Regions from separate parts of the Homo sapiens genome. Here all the other regions are linked to region 2. The links are contacts of gene promoters, found by promoter capture Hi-C in blood cells and fetal thymus (Javierre and others, 2016). All regions are on one chromosome and are shown on one strand. The core of a region is centred on a gene start or on the middle of the fragment in contact, and the rest is flanking DNA. Distances in the headings are between cores, read along the strand shown. Region 1 has its middle 41 kb from the start of HSD3B1. Region 2 holds the start of HMGCS2 (3-hydroxy-3-methylglutaryl-CoA synthase 2). Region 3 overlaps NOTCH2 (notch receptor 2).

Region 1 (2,768 bases), core at 13-2,512, 220 kb after region 2:
AGGAACACCATGCACCGGCCTGGGTGGATATAAAAGCATGCTGCATGCAGGAAGCGCTGAGTTTGGAAAATTGTTGAGGCACAAAGTAGGAGAATCTGGGGACAGGGCAGGGATTGGTGAGAATTAGTCTGGAGTGTCAGGCAGGGCCCAGGGCTTCAGAGGCCCTCTATGTTCTGCTAAGGCTCTCAGGCTCGTCCTGACAGTCCTGGGGCTCCCCCTATTGGTTGGTTTTAAGGAAGGGAGTGACATGGTGAGACTAGTTTGGAGAGAACTCTGGCAACACTGCTGAGGATAGGTTTCATGGGTGATTCTCCAAGACAAGGAGGCCTGTTGGGGGTACGAGTAGGAATGATGTTACCAGGGAGGAAGACGACATATTCAAGAGGTGTTGTGGAGGTAAAGTTCGTAGCACTGAATGATAGGTGGGCGGAGTGGGGGGCTGCCATCCAGGTTTCTGGCTTGAGAAAGTGTGTGCTTGGGAATTCTGTGCCCACACCCAGTCCTGTCTAAACTAGCGGCCATTCTGTCTCAGGCCTGCCGCAGTTGCCCCTGTAGTCTGTTTTGTTACCAACACATAAATCAGGCCTTCATTTCTTACCTAAATTCTTCAAGTATCCTCTTCATCTCTTTCAGTCCATCCTACAACATGCTGCCAAGGTAATCTTCCAGGGACAGCTGAACAATGCCCATTGCAGAGTGAATGATGTCCCAGCTTTTAGCATCACCATCAATATTCATTGCTAAAGGAGACATTCGTTTCCTGTAGAGTCCAATTTTTGAGAGAAGATGAGCCATGTTATATGTGAAGTAATTGAATGTCAAGTCTTCTTTAAGGGGGTGTGGGGCACAGAATTCCTACTCTGAGGGCAATGAAGGAAGCAGGCACGGTGTCTCCAGGGATGACCCCAGGTGATCCTGCCTGTGCCCATCATTTTTTTCAGGTGTATCTTCCATGTCTCCCCTGGCCTTGGGCTTTCTGGTCTGGTCTCATTGCTGCTTAAAATGGACCCCTTTCTCACCTGGGTCTTTGCAGACTGCATTGCCTCTGCCTGGAATAATTTCACTCACATTCCTGTCTGTTGAAATCCTACCCATCTTTTGATATCCAGCCAAAATGCAAGGACCCCATGAGTCCCCTGTGGGAATGGATCCTTCAGAAGCATTTTCCTTTCTATGGCACTCTGCATATTTACTATGCACAGCACCTAACATGTCTTGTATTTTATCTCCCCCACTGGACCACTAGATTGGGAGCAGAAATGGAAAATCAGAGCTCTTAATCCTGGGTCCAGCCTGTGAATGTGTTTTGTTAGTTTGCATGTTTTTTCCCCACCAAATTTAATTTATTAAAAAATTATAACCTATGTTAAATATACAGAAAAGGTGACAATACGATATAATAATGTATATTTGGGACTTTTCACCAAGAATGAACAGATTTGCTGCTGACATCTCACCACCTACTTTTTAAGAAATAAAATATTACACATACATTTTGAATACTAGCCCACGCATTCCTCTCTTGGAGCAGGTCTTTGAGCTGTTTTTTAAAATTTAGAGTTAGTTGCTAATATTTAGAAATCAAGAGATTTCACATAAAAGTTGGCCTCTGGCTACTTTCCTGCCAGTTCTCAGCAGGCCATCACGGGTTCCCAGCCCCATCCTGGCCCTCAGAGCCTGGCTCTCAGGTGGTGGAAACTTTTGTCAAGTACCTGAGCTCCTCATCTGCCCTCCATACATGCTTCCCAGCAGACGGGAGGCCTCCTTATGCCCCTCGTCTTCCTCTGCACCACTGCCCATGCTGTGCCCCCTGTCTGGACCCAGGAATTCAAGGCCTCATTTAAGTCCCGCTGGTTCCTGTGGCTTTTCCCAGTGACCAGCTCAGCTCCATTGTCTGTATTCATATACACCTAGCCCTTAAGCCGGTGGCTGAGAACTTACCTGTGTTTTCATTCATTCCCTTGCCAGGTACCCTGCAGAGCCACCTAGATGGAGGAAAGGGACCCAAAAATCCCCACTGGGTCAGGCTTCCTTGCTCTTCCCTCCGAGACTTGCTGCCTCCGTGTGGTGCATGGCGTGAGGTTCAGCGAGGCTTGCTTGGTGCAGGAGCTCTGCCTGCCTGGCACCCACAGTTGTAAGAAGGGATGGCACATTTTGTTGGCCACAACACTCCGAGGCCTTTGTGCTTGTCCAGTTGAGACTGCTGGCCCATCCAATTTCTTCCTCTCTTTCTGTGATCACCCCTCACTGCCCATTGGAGGTATAATCTTTCCCATCACTTCTCTGTGAACATTGCCCTCATTGGTCAATAGGAGTGGGGTTTCACTAGGCTGAAAAACCAGGGGGAAAGGCTCTTGTCCCAGATTCCACCACCCTCCTATCCTTCCCATGCTATTTGTCATAAACATATGGATGGTGGGCATGCCTTACAAGAGCTGGAGAGGTGCTGGCTCTTGCATTTTGTTCAGTGGATGGGGCAAGAGGGGTGTTCCATTTTTCACTTTACCCCACTGCCTAGGGCCATTCCACCCTGATGCTGGTGCTGATCACCTGTCCCTTGGTGCTTTGAGGTTAATCATCTGTAAATTTTCTGTGTAAGAAAGAAGCCATCTTGATGTTGAGTGTGACCCTCATCATGGCTGTGATATACCCAGGTCCAGAGGGAGACAGCTTCCCTTCCCACACTCTGGACCCACAGCAACCTCCTCACCCGCTTCAGTTCAACTCTGTCCCTAATGCCCCTGAAAGTGTTTCTTTTGACCGTTGCT
Region 2 (2,700 bases), core at 100-2,599:
AGAGGAGGAAGAGGAGAAATACCCTGGAAGAGATAGTATGAAGCAAAGAGGACACAGGCCTTGTTGTAAGCATTTAAAGTGCATTGGATTGACAAGAAGCAACAGGTATTTCAGAGAAGAGATTGGAAATGAAGAATTTCACTGACGACAGAACTTTGCAAAAGGCTGAGTGTAAGAGCAGGAGGTGACACAGCAAGGTAGGAGATTGAGTTAGAACACCAACACACCAAGATATATGGAGATAAGAATTTAAAGATAAGATGGAAGACCTAGATATCCTGGACTGCTGGGGGCACCTAGACATTCTCTGTCTGTAGGAACATGAAGTCAACTATATCCTCCTAAAGCAGGAACCACTCCAGCTCTTTTCTGTGTTCCCTACACACTCATATTAGACAGGGGGTTGGTGATGGGGATGACTGAATGAACTAAGGAGTGAATGCATGACTCACAAAAGGTAGAGGAAGATTGGTGCTGTGGGAGGAGTGGAGGGAGACATTCATTTGGAAAATCAGATGGCAGGAGCCTTTTTATTGAGTAGTAGAAGAGCAAAGCAGAAGGACCAGAATCTGGAGTCAAAAGACATGGTTGAGTTCTCATTCTGCAACTTCCTAGCTGCAGGTCTTTGGGAAAATGACTCCTTTATACATAACTCTGACCTCATCTATAAAGTAAACCTTTCCTCCTTAGGAGATTGAGCTTCAAACTGTCACCTCTTTGAGGCTCCTGTCCCTTTACTACAACACTAATTTCATCCCACTTGGAAATTGTGTAGAGCTGTACAAGTAAAAGGGTGGACAATAAACAGGAGAAATATAGTAGGTTCCACATACTCTAACGCCCAGCCCTTGGCCTATGTGCCAACACTCACTCCCAACTCCTTGAAAAGCTACTATTAAAAGAGTTTCCCTTTGGTTTAGAAAGATGTTTCTTATAATGCATAGCACATTAAAATAATAACAACTAACACCACAGAGAGGAGTGTGGAACACCCAGTGAGAGTAATACAGATAAGGAGCCAGGGTCTAAAACAAGACACATAGGGTTACCTTGGGATGTGATACAACAAGGAACATCATAACCTCCTGCTTAGGTAGCTGGGCAGAATCAAGGCTGCCACAGAGCCTGATGGAGTAGGAGGAACAATGCCCAGCCATTCCCACACATGCTCAGGAGCAGGGCAGCTATGTACATGTTGGAGAGATGCTGTTTGTCTTTGACTCGCCCGTGTTCTGAGTGAGCCCTTTGACCCAGTTTTAGAAGCAGACTGAGCCACGGTGAGCAGAGGCGGGGCTTAGGGAGGCAGGAGTCTTGGGGCTTTATAAAGTCCTGCCGGGCACCACTGGGCATCTCTTTCAAGGTTTCTGCTGGGTTTCTGAACTGCTGGGTTTCTGCTTGCTCCTCTGGAGATGCAGCGTCTGTTGACTCCAGTGAAGCGCATTCTGCAACTGACAAGAGCGGTGCAGGAAACCTCCCTCACACCTGCTCGCCTGCTCCCAGTAGCCCACCAAAGGTGAGTCACTTTCTGAGAAGCACCTTGTAACTAGTAAAAGATAGTTTTTCCCTGCTATTGGGGAAAACTCACTAGAATCCCACTCAAAATTTGGCAAGGCTTGTGCACAGCAGCCTTAGACAAGCAAGTTAACTTTAAAGGGTCTCAGTTACCTCATCTCTAAACAGACAATCCCTTTCAGCTGTAGAGTGAGAAGAGCCCAAACCTCTGACACATGCTGTGTTTGTGAGCAATGGCAACTTTTACTCTGCCAGCTGCATGAAGCAGTAGAAATATCAGTACCAGGCCACAGCTTTCCTCTCTACACCACCATTCCCACCTTCACCCCTAGCCTCTGCCTAGAACCACAGGACCTTGTGCCAACTGCAGTGTTAGTAAAACCAGTGACTTTATATCACTGCAGCAGAATCAGAAATGGACTGAGGATGAGAAGCTGTGTTTGCCTTGTGTTCCAATTTTATGAAAAGGGGAAATGTGTGTTTATGTGTGTATGTGTACATGCTCTTTGCAAGAAGAACATGCACACTCCTTTTCTTTGTAAATAGTCCCTGAACATGGCTCAAGTGCTTATGTTTTCCATTGTCAGCGATGATGGTAACACAGCTATCGTTAGTGCCTCAGGCTCCCAGCCACCTATGTGTTTCTGTCTAATCCCCAAACCATCCACTACACATTGGGACTAGTTCTTTATTTCCTTACATTTTTACTCTATATTCTATGACTACTAAATATTTAGAAAAATGATTTTGACCTAGTGTCTTTCCTTGCCAAATACCCAAGGAACCTGGGTGTATAGATGTGCATGGTAGAGGCAAATGCACATAGCTTTCTTATATTTTTCATTATGCTACCATCATCTCACTCTCCCCATGCACTGCCAAACCCTGCATGTGGGTTAAATGTCCCAGCTCAGGATTTAACCTGTTTCTATATTTGTGAAGAAGAGATTGATGTGGGTTTCTTGTTTTAATAGCAATAGTTGGCCATCAGCCAAAAGACATACATCAATCCTCCCCAACATTCTGACTCCCTTGGTTCAAACTCTTGGAATCATTCCCATTTCCCTTCTGGTATATTCACAGTTAATCCCATTATGCATGGCTTGAACTAATATTGCTTTTCATGAGTCACCTTTTCTCTATATGTCTAATCGCCTTTAATCCAACCCACATTGGCTCTAACTCCAA
Region 3 (2,700 bases), core at 144-2,643, 170 kb before region 2:
AGCCTATGATAATCATATGAGTGCACAACAATAAACAATGTGGTACAAAACCACCCAGCAAGCCTGCCATATTGGTTAGTGTTGCTTTCTGAGCTGTGTGGTGGTAAGAGGTGCTGACGGTTTTGCTTTGCAAACATTTATTCCTTGACTTGACCTGCCACCACTAGGACTGCTATTACTCATGGATTCACCAAAAATTGGATAAATAATTATCTTGTTTTTATTAATATTTCTTAAATGAATGTATAGCTTGTTTATTTTAATGTTTAATATCAGAAGTGGGTGTTAATTTGAAGTTTAGTGATTTTTTTTTTAACCAGAAATAAGTAGAGGAACTTAACTCTTTTTTATATCAATTAGACTGTGGTAAAATTGGTTTCGTTATATATCGTTGTCCTTAAAGTCACAGTTTCCAAGAACCTAATGATGACATTAAGTGAAGACTTAACGGTACGTAAAAATGGTTAGGTGTACCTCGGAACACTGAATCTAGTTTAAGGGCTCTTTTACTAGATGAAGGCTCTTTTTCTTTTTAATCAGTTTGCTTTTCTTTGATTTCTTGTAACACAATATAACTTCTTTTCTTCATTTCTAGTATTTGAATTTTGATGTATGTACACCCCTGCCTCTGTTTCAGACCCTGGTGAATCTCTGCAGTCGGTCTCCATGTAAAAACAAAGGTACTTGCGTTCAGAAAAAAGCAGAGTCCCAGTGCCTATGTCCATCTGGATGGGCTGGTGCCTATTGTGACGTGCCCAATGTCTCTTGTGACATAGCAGCCTCCAGGAGAGGTAAGCTTTGCTCCCTTGGGCTCAGGTCATTCACTGCAGTATTGACTGTCCAGTGGCATTTAGAGAAGGTATCATTTTTTTGTGGAATAAGAGGGAAGGGCAGATAGTAGTGGGTGGGCAGGGCTCTGGGGAAAGGGCTCAAGACAGAAGGTGTAAGGGTAGAGGAATAGGTTCAGAGATTCGGAGAAGAATGTATTTGAAATGAAACTAAGGTATATTCCACTTTCAGGGTTTATTTTTAATATGCATCTGGTACTGAGGGTTGTGAAGAACTGGCTAAGAATAAGATTGGATGTGTCAGCCAGTTTAGATTTACTTGCTCATTGGTTGATTTGAACCCCATGTGTCACATGTTCTTCTATGACATTTCTCCCTCACTGGGTTTCCCAGGTGTGCTTGTTGAACACTTGTGCCAGCACTCAGGTGTCTGCATCAATGCTGGCAACACGCATTACTGTCAGTGCCCCCTGGGCTATACTGGGAGCTACTGTGAGGAGCAACTCGATGAGTGTGCGTCCAACCCCTGCCAGCACGGGGCAACATGCAGTGACTTCATTGGTGGATACAGATGCGAGGTGAGGACACTGAGCAAGCAGAGGTCATGGACCTCCCAGGAGATTGTACAACTGTTTGAGCACTGATATATTGAATTTAGCTGCTTGTATCTTATATTGATAGTTTATAGATTTTTACCAATCCCCGTCATAATGTTTACCACTGTTTCTTTCAGCCTCTCTGTGCAATAAGTTAACAGGTCCCTAGTATGATATTTTTATAGGCGTCTGGAACCATCCCAGCTCCTTAGGCTTGCTTTTAGGATTCAGAGCCAAGAGTCACTACCAGAGTGCATTTTACAGGCCCACCCAACATAGCAGTCCACACTTCCCTGAATAGCAGCTGAGATAGGAAAAACTGCTTTGTGGAGTGTCCCTTTGGCCCCTGTCACCTTTGTATTTAGTCATTAATCAGTCAACTAGCAATTTTCTCTCAAAAAAAAAAAATGTTGCTCATCCTGTTCCCCATAGCATCATGCTAAACGTTACATGTATATATTTGAGGAAGTATGTGTCTTCAAGGTACATGTCACTATTTTAATGTCTGGGCTGATAATGGTTAGAGCAAGCAAGATATTAGCAAAATGCCTGAGACATTAATTTGATACCAATTCAAACCATCAAGCAACACTGAGAAAAGCTTTGCTTCTCTATTGTTATATAAATGAGCCAACGATAGCTTCTGTATTTTGGCCCCTAGGTTGTTTATTTCTTCACAGCAGGCTGGGGCTGGGTCTCATTAGCTCAAAAGCCTACCAGTGCCAAACCCAAATTTTGACACATCTAGTTGTTTTAAACATAGCCCCCAAATAAGCAGATTTTTAGCTATTTAGAGCTTGCCTGCTTTGCATAGCCTGTAAAACTGCAGCCAAAATCTGCTAGCCATAGTATAAGTAGGACAAGATATACCCTGGGGCCATACAGACCCCAGGCTGATGCTGGCCTTTAGAGCTCTCTGACCCAGAGATTCCTGCCACTGGCTGTTGAGTGACATCACCTAGACTCCTTCTCTGATCCTTCTTTCCCAGAGTTTACTTGCTGTCTTCCCCTTACTCACCTACCCCTCTGGAAGGTCTCATGCTATTTGGGACTTCTCCCAGGTGCAAACCTGTCAAAGTGTCCAAATAAAGCCACCTCACAGCCATATCTTTTTTCTTGGTCAGCCCTGAAATCCTTCCAACCCCTACAGCCACCACAGCCAGCCAGCCAGCCCCACCTCCCTCTACCCCTAAGCCTATCTCAACCAGTTTCTCACACATAGATCCAATTTCCTAAACCTGGAGATCAATAATTGCATGTCTGTACTACCATCCACATATGCCTTTTGACCGAGTCATAGGGTCCTCATCACATAC

The links. The method cuts DNA at HindIII sites, captures the fragments that hold promoters and counts their contacts. A CHiCAGO score of 5 or more calls a contact.
Region 1: a fragment that was not itself captured here is called in contact with the fragment with the promoter of HMGCS2 in region 2 in 2 of 17 cell types (M1 macrophages and M0 macrophages); the score reaches 6.1 in M1 macrophages.
Region 3: a contact is called between a fragment that was not itself captured here and the fragment with the promoter of HMGCS2 in region 2, in 1 of 17 cell types (M0 macrophages). The highest score is 5.9, in M0 macrophages.

Annotation. Positions count from the first base shown.
Region 1 is chr1:119,547,268-119,550,035 of GRCh38, reverse strand. No RefSeq gene overlaps it. Among named protein-coding and RNA genes, the nearest start is that of HSD3B1, 41 kb to the right of the region's middle. RefSeq lists an enhancer at 56-350. The HindIII fragment of the contact is 5,511 bases long and covers 1-2,768 here.
Region 2 is chr1:119,767,554-119,770,253 of GRCh38, reverse strand. HMGCS2 (3-hydroxy-3-methylglutaryl-CoA synthase 2) reads left to right here and starts at 1,349. Exons shown (of 10, transcript NM_005518.4): 1 at 1,349-1,513. The coding sequence starts at 1,410. RefSeq lists a silencer at 1,474-1,768. The HindIII fragment of the contact is 4,165 bases long and covers 1-2,700 here.
Region 3 is chr1:119,935,948-119,938,647 of GRCh38, reverse strand. It overlaps NOTCH2 (notch receptor 2), which reads left to right. Exons shown (of 34, transcript NM_024408.4): 20 at 638-791; 21 at 1,182-1,366. Among named protein-coding and RNA genes, the nearest start is that of ADAM30, 41 kb to the right of the region's middle. RefSeq lists an enhancer at 1,683-2,408. The HindIII fragment of the contact is 1,189 bases long and covers 799-1,987 here.